Regions from separate parts of the Homo sapiens genome. Here region 2 is linked to region 1. Evidence: promoter capture Hi-C in 16 types of primary human blood cells and fetal thymus (Javierre and others, 2016). All regions are on one chromosome and are shown on one strand. The core of a region is centred on a gene start or on the middle of the fragment in contact, and the rest is flanking DNA. Distances in the headings are between cores, read along the strand shown.

Region 1 (6,177 bases), core at 1,518-4,017:
GCCTGGGGATGCTGGAGTAGGGGCTGGTAAGGTGAAGGTCAACATTGGAGGCATGTGAGGACCAGTTAGTTTTGCTCTGTTTCTGACTCATGCCTGACCTCTATGCTGGCCAGTATCTCCCAGACCCCTGAGAGGACAGAGCAGAAAAAGAGAATGGATATGAATCCTTTCTCTCCCAGTTTCTAGGGGTTCAGCTTCACAGACAACTAGGGTATTATGGAATGATTATGGGTCTCAGGGCATCATGGGACCAGGCAAAATACAGACCAGTGTATCCCTGTGTTTCATTCCCCTTTTCCCTTTGGGCTTCCAGCATTGGGAAGAAAACAAAGACTGGTCTTAAATCCTAGTGAGTGATAAAATACTGCATTCAGCTCTGGGGAGTTGAGTGTCTCTGGAGATAAATTCCTGACATGCTCAAAGTATGTTTCATTCAAATTAACCAGAATGATAGTCTTGTTAAAGCTGGAAGTCTTGTTAAAGCTTAGCAATCATCTTATACAGCCCACTCCTTGTAGGTAAACTGAGGTCCAGTCAGGGTCACCCATACTCCGTGTCAGAATGCAGCCCCAAATCCAGCCCTCCTGCAGCCCATAGTTCTGATGTGTATTCTGCACTTCTAGAATCCTGCCACCCTTATGCTCTGTGTCTTGTTCATGAATCTACCTCCCTTCTACTGCTTGGCAAGTTTAGAGTTAACTTTCTGAAGTGAATATTAGACTGGTGACTCCTTGAGTGCCAGGATGGATTCTGATTCACATCTGTGTCCCAGCCTTTGGCATGGGGTCTGGCACAATGCAGATGTTGGGTGAATGGAGAGCAAGGATCCACAGTATGCACGTGCAGACAAACCGGGTTCCAGGAGGATGACTTGGCCCACCCCCACTCTCACATGCTTTCTCTTTAAGTTGAGGAAGAAGAGAGGAACATGTATTCAATGATATCAATGCGCCAGGCACTGTGCCATGTGCTTATCCCAGTGCATTCCTCACAACAATCAATGGGAAATAAATGATCACCCCCATTTTACAGATGGGGACACCGCAGTACAGAGAAGTTGAGAATATCTCGTGGTCTCAGCCAGCAAGAGGCAGAGGCGCATTTTGAATCTGAGGCCAGGGCCTGAGCGCTATGGCACCAGGTTGTGAGGGAGTTTACTGAGCACCAATTTCGTGGCTCAATGCTTTTCTTCTTACCCTAACTCTGAACGTCTTCACCAGAATCCAAGGAGGCAGACAGTAGTGCAATTCCATTTAAGAGCCGCCGAAACCGAGGCTCAGAGGGCTTTAGCGAAAGGGTTGCGCTTGGCTCTAGGCACCTGGGCTGAGTCTTTTTCCCACCATCGCAGGGCGGGAACCAGCGGAGGGGGCTGGCTCGGATGGGGAGAAAAGCAACTGGAGGGCGCCGAGGGGAAGAGGGAGCCCGGATCTGTCAGGGCGTCCTCTTGGACTAAGGGATGTTCCCCTAAACCACACCACCCCACCTCGTTCAGATTCTGGGAAACCCGGCACGCACATACCCTGCACAATAACAGGCAGGGTGAGGTCTCTAAGCCCCGAAGATCGCTCTCTCAGCGGAGGCAGTGGCCCTGACGAGGGGGTACAGCTGCACGCGCGGGGTTTCTCTCCGAACCGGAGTGCAGCGTAGTCGAGGTCCAGGATTCCCCATCCATTATTCACGATGTTTACTAGAGCGGGGCAAGGGAGAGGAAAGAAGAGGGAAGTAGAGAGAAAAAGAGGCTAGGGGAGGTGGAGGCGGGCAGTGCTAACCTCGAGAGCCCTCAAGTTCCGAAACTTTGAGAAGGAAGACCAAGAGGCTAAGGCGCCTGGGAAGCAGCAGGCCGTCAGTAAATATTTGTAAGATGGATGGATAACTGGGTGAGTGAGTGAATGGGCTAATCATTAGCCCCTCTGATCCTTGTTTTCCTCATCTGTAAAACGGGATAACATCACCTACTCCATACGGTGGGTATGAGAATCCCATGGGCAAACTCTAAATTGTCTAGCACATATTAGGAACTCTTAAACGGTAGCTGTTGTCACGAGGAATGGGCTTGCAAGCTCTGGCTGCCCAGCAGAAATGCACTGAAGGACTCCCAGGCCTGGAGGGCCATCCTGAACAGTCGCTATTCTAAAAAAAATACTCCACAAGCTTCCTTAGACGGGAGGGTTGGAGGAAGAGTGGGCCAAGTTACATCCCTCAAATGAAAGAAAGAAAGGCAAGCGTGGGGAGGAAGCCACCCCGGACTGAGAAGGCAGTTACTGCCCCTACCTCTACCCCGGAGCGCGGTTGAGGGAGGTGGGGCAGGGGTCACCTGGGCCTCGTTCTGGCAGCCCCTCACCCTCTCCAGGGCCCGTCTGGGCGCTTGGAGGCGCCTCCTCGCTGCGCCGCGGGACCGGACTCTGGTGGACAGCTTGGGCGTGAGGCCAGGAGCGCCCTGGAAATGGGCAGTTTGGCGGCAGCCGGGCCGACGGAGTGTGTGTGTGTGTGTGTGTGTGTGTGTGTGTGTGTGTGTGTGGTGGAGAGGGGAAGTTGGAGTAGGGTCAACTTCCTGCCCCAGCTCAGCCCAGGGCTACCCTTTTATCCAGGCAGTTCGAGCTGGGACAGGACGGAGAGGTTGGGACTTTTGGGGTGGCATGGGGGAAGGGAAGTCCACGAAGAAGAAAGAATCGGAAAGGTCTGGCGGGTTGGAGCCAGCGGGGCGGGGCGGACTGGGAGAGGCCAGGCCAGGCCCGGGTATAAAGGCTGTGGAGGGGGCGGCCGCCGCGGGCGCAGAAAGGCGCGCCGCTAGCTGCTGTCTCTCCTCACCTCCCGGGCCGCCCCTGCGAGTCCCCGGCGCGTGAGCACGCCTGCGCGCGCCCGGGCCCTTCCTGGCAGGCTGCTTGTAAGATGAGTGAAGAAGCAGGTGGGGGAGAGGGGAGGCAGCGAGCGAGAGGGCGAGGGGAGCGCGGGCGCTGAGCAGCGCTCACTTGGAGAGCGGCAAGCAAGCTAGACAAGCCTGATTCCATGTCACCCGCTGCCACCCTGCCAGGAGCGCGAAGATGATGGCCATGAACTCCAAGCAGCCTTTCGGCATGCACCCGGTGCTGCAAGAACCCAAATTCTCCAGTCTGCACTCTGGCTCCGAGGCCATGCGCCGAGTCTGTCTCCCAGCCCCGCAGGTACGTAGTGGAGCATAATTACCGCTCTAAGGCACATTTTTTGACAGGCACTAGCTTCATGTTTTTTTCATGTCGCCCAGAACAATCGCCGCTGTCTGAACCCCTCTCCTTGTCTCCCCCGCGTTCTCTCCCGGCGCGCTCTCTCTCTCATTCATGTCTCTGATCCACACGTCTGTTCCAGCAGAGCCGCTGCCTCCGTATTAATTTTTATGACCTGGGCTTTGAGGAGAGGCATCTCGGTTGCTTGAAAATGTGTTTTAATCCTGTGTTGACAGTATTCCCTACTGACCGTGCTGTGCGCCTTCTCGCTTGCAGCTGCAGGGTAATATATTTGGAAGCTTTGATGAGAGCCTGCTGGCACGCGCCGAAGCTCTGGCGGCGGTGGATATCGTCTCCCACGGCAAGAACCATCCGTTCAAGCCCGACGCCACCTACCATACCATGAGCAGCGTGCCCTGCACGTCCACTTCGTCCACCGTGCCCATCTCCCACCCAGCTGCGCTCACCTCACACCCTCACCACGCCGTGCACCAGGGCCTCGAAGGCGACCTGCTGGAGCACATCTCGCCCACGCTGAGTGTGAGCGGCCTGGGCGCTCCGGAACACTCGGTGATGCCCGCACAGATCCATCCACACCACCTGGGCGCCATGGGCCACCTGCACCAGGCCATGGGCATGAGTCACCCGCACACCGTGGCCCCTCATAGCGCCATGCCTGCATGCCTCAGCGACGTGGAGTCAGACCCGCGCGAGCTGGAAGCCTTCGCCGAGCGCTTCAAGCAGCGGCGCATCAAGCTGGGGGTGACCCAGGCGGACGTGGGCGCGGCTCTGGCTAATCTCAAGATCCCCGGCGTGGGCTCGCTGAGCCAAAGCACCATCTGCAGGTTCGAGTCTCTCACTCTCTCGCACAACAACATGATCGCTCTCAAGCCGGTGCTCCAGGCCTGGTTGGAGGAGGCCGAGGCCGCCTACCGAGAGAAGAACAGCAAGCCAGAGCTCTTCAACGGCAGCGAACGGAAGCGCAAACGCACGTCCATCGCGGCGCCGGAGAAGCGTTCACTCGAGGCCTATTTCGCTATCCAGCCACGTCCTTCATCTGAGAAGATCGCGGCCATCGCTGAGAAACTGGACCTTAAAAAGAACGTGGTGAGAGTCTGGTTCTGCAACCAGAGACAGAAACAGAAACGAATGAAGTATTCGGCTGTCCACTGATTGCGGCAGGGCGCAGCGTCGGGAGCCGGGAGAGCCTAGTGCTCATCCCTCCCGGGTTCGGGGGATGGTTATCGGGAACTCCAAGGCGTTTCCTAGGCAGGTTAGGCTCTCTCCTCCGAAGCCACAGACTTTCCCCCTTTGTCCCGCCTGGTTGCCTCCGGCCTTCTCTCTCTTTCCTTTCTATTCCCACCAAAAAAATTTTGGCGCTGGGAAAATATTGCAGAAGGGCGGGCCTGAGTGTACTTGTGCTGTCCGTGGTGCTGAAATTTGCCCTCGCGCAGGGGCCGCACGACTTCAGAGCAGGAGCCCCAAAGCAGAGGACAGTCAATTGGCCCAACCGCCCGAAGCTAGGGTGAAAATGCCACTTTGCTAAGCGCGATTAGGCAAAGGGTGAAGGGATAAAAAGGAAGTGATCAATAATAACACAAAGTCTAGGATATCTAAGGGGGACACAAACATGCACTGGAGATTTATTAGAGTATATAAAATACATGTATGTTTCCAAAGGATAGCCTTATACTCCCTTCCTTGCCTAAATTCTATTCACCTTATCCTTTGGTTTGGCGTAAATTCTCATAAGGTAGCATGAAGATTAGGTTCAGGGAAAGTATGCAGGGAGTTGCGGGCTCCAAGTTGCCATTTTTTCGTGGTAAGTAGGGCTCCAAAACAGGTGGGCCCAGTCTGGCGACTGAAAATTCTGGGATCGCTTGGCTGTTTGTAATCAGCTGCCAGCACCAGCTCTGGCCATCTTTCACTACCTACTGGTGTTTGAGGGGTAATTACTGCTTGCTGGAGAGCGGGAGTTTGTAGTATTCATAACCGTTGAGGACTCTCTGACCCCAGCTCGCTGCTCTTGCCAGATTGCCAGCTCAGCGTGCAGTCGGCTGCTGGAAAACGACTGTAACTTCTCTGCATTATATGCAAGTCCTTTCAACACGTCTAACCTCCTTGCACTTTTGTTATTACTGTTGTTGTTAACATCGTTCATTACTATTATTTATTTAATTCTGCTTCTTTCCATTCCCTTTATGTGGGTGTCTTTCGGTGGAAGTTCACTTATAGTTTTGTGAGGGAAGAGGAGTGGGACCATGGGCCTGAACCCTTCTCACCCTGCCCCTCTAGCCCAAATTTTATTTTATTTTTTCGTTGTTTCATGTAGTTTGTGTGTTGCTGTGTGACCTTTGGTTTCATTCTCTGAATAGATACAAATAAAATATTAAGTTTTCTTTTCCCTTTACCCCTTGAATTAACTTCTAAAATAAATGCTTTATTTTTCAACCCGAATCAAAGTGGTTTTATTTTTTCTCAGAGGCTAAGGGGTACTAGCTTTGAAAAGGATTTAAAAAGGAGAACCCCAAAGGGTTGGGCTGTCAGTTTCTGCTGCCCAGCCCCCAGCCATCCCTTCTCCCCACTCCTCTTCCATGGCAGACTCACTTGGAGCTCCTCGTGGGAGACCCTGCGGCTTGTGTCTGAACTTGAGGTTTCAAGGCACTTCCTTCCATGCTTCCCTGCCTGCCATCATGAGACTCTGCTCAATTTGACTTAGCTAGTAAACTTTGAAGCCGGACTAATAGAAATTCGAGCCTCCAATGCCTCTGCTCACTGGCAGAACCATCCTGAGGCTAATTTCTTAATTTCTCTAAGCCTTCTCCAACAAGATTGCTTGTCTGCAGAATGAAGGGACCAACGCTTATTTCACAAGGTTATTGTCAGGACTAGGTGAGATTGTTTATTTAAGACGTCAACTAGTGCTTGGGTTTTGTAGGCAACAAATTATTTTAAAAGATTCAAAGGGCTTGAAAGG
Region 2 (6,177 bases), core at 1,559-4,058, 76 kb after region 1:
CTAAAGTGATCTCAACAGATATTAGTTTGGGGATTATTTGTATGTGCATATTCTCTTTTATAGTGATGCAAACATTTTTGTTTACTTGTTCTGATTTTCTCATATTTTATAGAAATGTCACATTTGTTACATATTTTACATGCAGTTTATTTCAATTTAGAGTAACTATTTTCTCTCTATAAAAAAATTTAATCGTAAAAAGGCAAAACAGCCAAACTCATTATTTGGTTCCAGTTTTTAGAATTTCTGCAAGCTTTTGCTAACATCATTAAAAACAACAGTTTCTACCAAATAACCATAGATAGTGCAGATTCAGAAATAATTTTCTGCCAAAGATCATGATTCCTTCCTTAGCAAAGTAATGCAGGAACAGAAAACCAAATACCACATGTTCTCACTTATAAGTCGGAACTAAATGATGAGAACTCATGAACACAAAGAAGGAAACAACAGGCACTGGGGTCTACTTGGGGGTGGGGGGAGTGGGGAGGGGAAGGGGCAGAAAAGATAACTGTTGGGTGCCGAGCTTAATATCTGGGTGATGTAGTAATATGTACAACCAACCCCTGTGACACGTTTATCTATGTAACAAACCTTCACATGTATGCTCAAACCTAAAATTAAAATTCTAAAAAAAGATCATGATCCTTTTTTTTTTTTTTTTTTTTTTTTTTTTTGAGATGGAGTCTTGCCGTGTCACCCAGGCTGGAGTGCAGTGGCACGATCTCGGCTCACTGCAACCTCTGCCTCCCAGGTTCAAGCGAGTCGCCTGCTTCAGGCTTCCGAGTAGCTGGAACTACAGGCGCCCACCACCACACCCGGCTAATTTTTGTATTTTTAGTAGCGACGGGGTGTCACCATACTGGCCAGGCTGGTCTCAAACTCCTGACCTCGTGATCCGCCCGCCTCGGCCTCCCAAAGTGCTGGGATTACAGGTGTGAGCCACCGTACCCGGCCATGATTCTTTTTATTTAAGGATTATCTTTTATTTCTCATACTCTTCCAGTGCATCTTGTTATCTGGTGTAAATAAAATTTTGTTGTTTTAATAGCTTTTAGTCAGCATTCCCTTTGTGTGTCCAAAAGTGTTTTAGTGACAAACATATAACAGCTTTTTCAAGTTGTTTCATCTTTGGACAGATACAGAAAATATCCTATGTAGTTGTTTAATTGTTCTGAAGATGCAATCACCCATTTGACACAGCTGAGAACATGTCCCTTAATAAGAAATTCAAACTATGTATCACACATGCCTCATAATAAATGCTTGTTCCTTACCAACTGCCATTATCATTAGCTTGCCATCATTATTCTTTTAAATCAATGTCTAAAATTCAAAATTGTATTTTCAATTCTACTTTTTACAATAGGTATAAAATCAATAACATACACAATTTTGACTTCAATTTTTATCATCTGATGAACTATCAGATGCAAGTGTGGCCTGCCCACCATCATCAGATGATGGTACATCAGAAGATAAATATTAGTTGCTCAATATGATTTTGTCCTAACATAATTTACGTAAATTAGTTACTATTAATTTAAAAATTGTATCTCTAATATCTTTTATCACATTTAATAGTATTTTGAATTCTCCATTTAAAGAAATATGATCTTTTAAAATTCAATTTTGTTTTTTTTTGAGACAGGGTCTCGAGAGCTCTGTTGCCCAGGTTGTAGTGCAGTGGCTCAGTCTCGGCTCACTGCAACCTCTGCTTCCCAGGTTCAAGCAATCCTCCTGCCTCAGCCTCCCTAGTAGCTGGGACTACAGGTGCATGCCACCATGCCCAGCTAATTTTTTTGTATTTTTAGTGGAGACGGGGTTTTGCCATGTTGGCCAGGCTGGTCTCGAGCTCCTGACCTCAGGTCTTCCGCTCGCCATGGCCTCCCAAAGTGCTGGGATTACAGGCCTGAGCCACTGCGCTGGGCCTAAAATTCATTTTTATCTATGTTATATGCTTGGCTATTTTGGCATCACATTTGAAAGTTATTTTTTCTACTAGACTAGAACATTTCCATTGTTTTCTATGAATATCGCACTGTTGCTGTTCCACACAAGCTTGCCTAAGTATGGCACATCTAATACTGTTTTCTTAAGAATATCACAGCGATATTGTATATTTGTATTTGCTTGTTTATTTGTTGAATACTGTTAATCATTTGTGTTGTTTCAGGCTTTTTTTTTTCCATTCTAGTATTTGCGTGTGCATTTTTTGGGGTCGGGGTCAAATAACATTTTGTATTCTTTTAATTGAGAACCTAAGTATTTCCAGTCACAGATTCTTTCACTGGACAAAGCTGACTGTGAAGACAGACTGAAATATGTAATAATAGTAACAAAATATTTTGTCTTTTGACTTAGAATATTAAAAAAGTTTCTACAGTTTCTCCATTGGGAAAAAAACTTACAATAATACAAAATATTAACTTTTCTGCCAAGTTTATTCAAGGAAAAATTTATAACCAATAATTTAAATCAACTTACATTTTTCTGGAAATGTTCTCAGATTTCAGAAAGCTGTGACAAACTTTTCTAGGATCACCTTCCAATAAACAGTAAAGAAGCAAAAAGTTTTTAATCTTTCTTGTCAAATTTGCCAATTTCCCCATAATTTCTTTATCATCTAATGGGCAGACCCACTTGCACTCGTTTCTTTTGAGTTGTGAATTTGATATAAAAATATCTTTTTCATTGTCTTATTTTAATCATGAAAGAAACTTCATGTAAAGAACATGAAGTTACAGGTGTTTGATCTGATCTATTCAAGTTGTGGACTTACTCAGAATACTTTTCTTATTTTCATTGTTTTGCTCAGTAACTAAATCTTCACTGAACAGGGAATTTGTAATGTTTGTTTATGAATTGTATGTGGGCCATGCTCAGGAGTTCGCAATTTAAACAAATTACAGCTGACCACCTTGGTGAATATGTTTGTTTTTCTTTTCTATCCTTATTTTTCTGAGCTTCACTTTCATATTTTGTAGGTCTAGCACAATCTTAACTTGTTCTCATTCTTGGTCAGCTAAAGAATTAAGATAAGCAGCCATAAAAAATGATGAGTTCATGTCCTTTGTAGGGACATGGATGAAGCTGGAAACCATCATTCTCAGCAAACTATCACAAGGACAAAAAACCAAACACCGCATGTTCTCACTCGTAGGTGGGAATTGAACAATGAGAACACATGGACACAGGAAGGGGAACATCACACACCGGGGTCTGTTGTGGGGTGGGGGGAGTGGGGAGGGATAGCATTAGGAGATATACCTAATGTTAAATGATGAGTTAATGGGTGCAGCACACCAACATGGCACATGTATACATAGGTAACAAACCTGCACGTTGTGCACATGTGCCCTAAAACTTAAAGTATAATTAAAAAAAAAAAAGATTTAAGATAAAATGTAATCATATTCAAAGGGTTCCAAATTCGAATATATTTCATCAAAAATGTAATTAAAGTAAATGCTAAAATACTAAAAAATTAAAAACATTTCCTATTTTGTCAAAAAAGTTATTTTTCTTCTGCTAAAATATCCAAAATTATTGATTGAAGCTTAAGGGTAAAATACAAATGGTAATTAATGAATACTAATATTTAAATAAAAATTTCAAATGAAGCTTAATTTTTACTTAGTTTTAAATTTAGTTTACTCATTACATATTTTCATAAACATTAAGTTATCCGCAATTTTTATATTCAATGTTTCATGCTTCAAGCATGCTATGTCTAGACAATGTATAAAAAATTAAAAGTAGTATTTTTTAAATTGCAAAAGATTCTTTAGCTGCTATGTGTAACTGCTGCAAACACTGCAGTAATTTGTGAGTACTTACCCACAAACTGGAACTTGAAGAAAGCAAGAAAATGGATGCTTGTTACCCCGGGATATGCTGTGTTATTTTCTAAGAATCTATAGCATTCATGACACCTGAGAAGAAAGATTTGACAAGTATATTAATTTGTCTTTTACCTAAATGCTTCCACAGCTTAAATTCTCCTTGCACACACATTCCTCAGCAGTGTCCTTTTGTGATGCTGGCAGCAGCACAACCTGTGATTCTTCACAACATTTGGGTGGTCAGCTTGTGTTTCCAGGACCGAGGAGCATTTTCCATGGCCTGAATGGTGTTAGTCACCAAAGTGATTGTTTAGGGTATCTGCAATGGTCACCTGATTTCATATATTCTTTAATACATTTGTCTTTTTATGTGTCTTTTCTAAACATGAGATCTGAGGTAGGGGTTCCTCCTTACCAGATCTAGGGCTGTCCTGAGTACAGTAAAAATAATCCAACACTACTTATATATACAACCCACACGTATAAAATAGAAATAGGTTCTCCCTACAAGTACTTGAGTAAATTACCATGTAACCAGTTTGTTGTTTATTTTTCTAGACTTTAAAAAATACTAACACACATACACACACACACACACACACACATTTTTTTTTTTTTTTTGAGACAGAGTCTCACTCTATCACCCAGGCTGGAGCGCAGTGGTGCAATCTTGGCTCACTGCAACCTCCCCATCCCGGGTTCAATCGATTCTTGTGGCTCAGCCTCCCGAGTAGCTGGGATTACAGGTGTGTGTCACCACACCTGGCTAATTTTAGTAAACACAGGGATTCACCATATTGGCCAGGCTGGACACACACATATTTTATATAAAATTTATATATAAATGAGATCATAATATGAAAACTTTGGGAAGCTTCTTTCTCCATTTAATGGTATATTATGCACTGTTTCCAGTGTTGTTACACACAATTTATTAACTTTATCTTATTCATAACTATAGATTACACTTTTTTTTTTTTTTCTGAGATGGAGTCTCACTCTGTTGCCCAGGCTGGAGTGCAGTGGTGTGATCTCAGTTCACTGCAACCTCTGTCTCCAGGGTTCAAGTGATTTTCCCGCCTCAGCCTCCCGAGTAGCTGGGATTATAGGCGTGCGCCATCATGCCTGGTTAATTTTTGTATTTTTAGTAGAGATGGGGTTTTGCCATGTTGGCAAGACTGGCCTTGAACTCCTGACCTCAGGTGATCTGCCCACCTGGGCCTCCCAAAGTGCCAGGGTTACAGGCATGAGCCATTGCGCCAGGTCTGATTACACTATTTTTTAAGCCAATTCCTTTCTGATTGGCATTTGGTTATTTTTTTTCTTTAAATTTTTGTCATAAAAATCCTACAGCAAATATCCTTGGATAGGTTACTTGGTTTTCACTATGTCTAAATTCATGACTGCATTTGGTCAATACAGCTAATTTATTTATTTATTTTTTTAATATAGGTAATTTATAAGTGTTAGAAATTAACTACACACATCTTCTATAGGATCACTTAGTCCCTGCTCCTATTTTTCATATTCTGAAAGCTTTCTTAAACATTTTTCTGGACAATCTAGAAAAAGTTCTAGATGAAAATTTTATACTAATGTGTCTTGTCTGCGATCCAAGGCAGTTTGATACATTAGTGTGTTAAGCTTTCATGCTCAGAAATGACAGAAAAATTAGAAATCTATGTTAATTAGGAATGGCAAATGGAAACTTAAGTATATATATTTATATATTTAATTATTTTTCATTTAAAATAAATATAAAATACCTTCTTTTATATTTATTTTAATGTATTATGAGATGTCAATCCCTCCTATTGTCATATATATGATCTACACGTACAATTAAGATAGATACATACATATCTTTGTATCCGTGTGTGTGTGTGTGTGTGTATACAAGCTTTGTTTGGAGCTAGAAAGCAGCGGATCCAGGATTCAAATGTGGGTGTGGCTGGTAGGTCTTGTCAACCTACCACGCCAGTAGTCTTGCCACCATATTATGCTTTGTAGTAGGTATTAGAACTTGGTGGTGGAGGGTGGGGGTGAATTCAAAGAGCATCTAGTTTTTTTCAATATAAGCAAGAATGTTTATAAACACCAAACTTATCACAGTAGTCACATTTTTAAGGAGCGGAGAGGGGTTGAGGAGAAGAGAAAAGACAATTTTGCATTTGTGTATCGCTTGACTTTTTAAAATAATGAGAATCAGTTTGCGTTGTATTGTCAAATTTTAATAATTAATGAAAAATAATCTTGTACATAGTTGGTGTCAACGGCAAATGATTCAGACACGTTTGAAAACAGTTTGGAAGTTCTTTATAAAGTTAAAGAA

The links. The method cuts DNA at HindIII sites, captures the fragments that hold promoters and counts their contacts. A CHiCAGO score of 5 or more calls a contact.
Region 2: a fragment that was not itself captured here is called in contact with the fragment with the promoter of POU4F3 in region 1 in 1 of 17 cell types (megakaryocytes); the score reaches 5.2 in megakaryocytes.

The regions. Positions count from the first base shown.
Region 1 is chr5:146,336,072-146,342,248 of GRCh38, forward strand. It overlaps POU4F3 (POU class 4 homeobox 3), which reads left to right and starts at 2,768. Exons shown (of 2, transcript NM_002700.3): 1 at 2,768-3,161; 2 at 3,477-5,657. The coding sequence starts at 3,042. The coding sequence ends at 4,373. RBM27-POU4F3 (RBM27-POU4F3 readthrough) reads left to right here. Exons shown (of 20, transcript NM_001414499.1): 19 at 3,032-3,161; 20 at 3,477-5,657. The coding sequence ends at 3,487. RefSeq lists a silencer at 4,552-4,752. The HindIII fragment of the contact is 1,348 bases long and covers 2,150-3,497 here.
Region 2 is chr5:146,411,963-146,418,139 of GRCh38, forward strand. No RefSeq gene overlaps it. Among named protein-coding and RNA genes, the nearest start is that of TCERG1, 32 kb to the right of the region's middle. The HindIII fragment of the contact is 1,498 bases long and covers 2,060-3,557 here.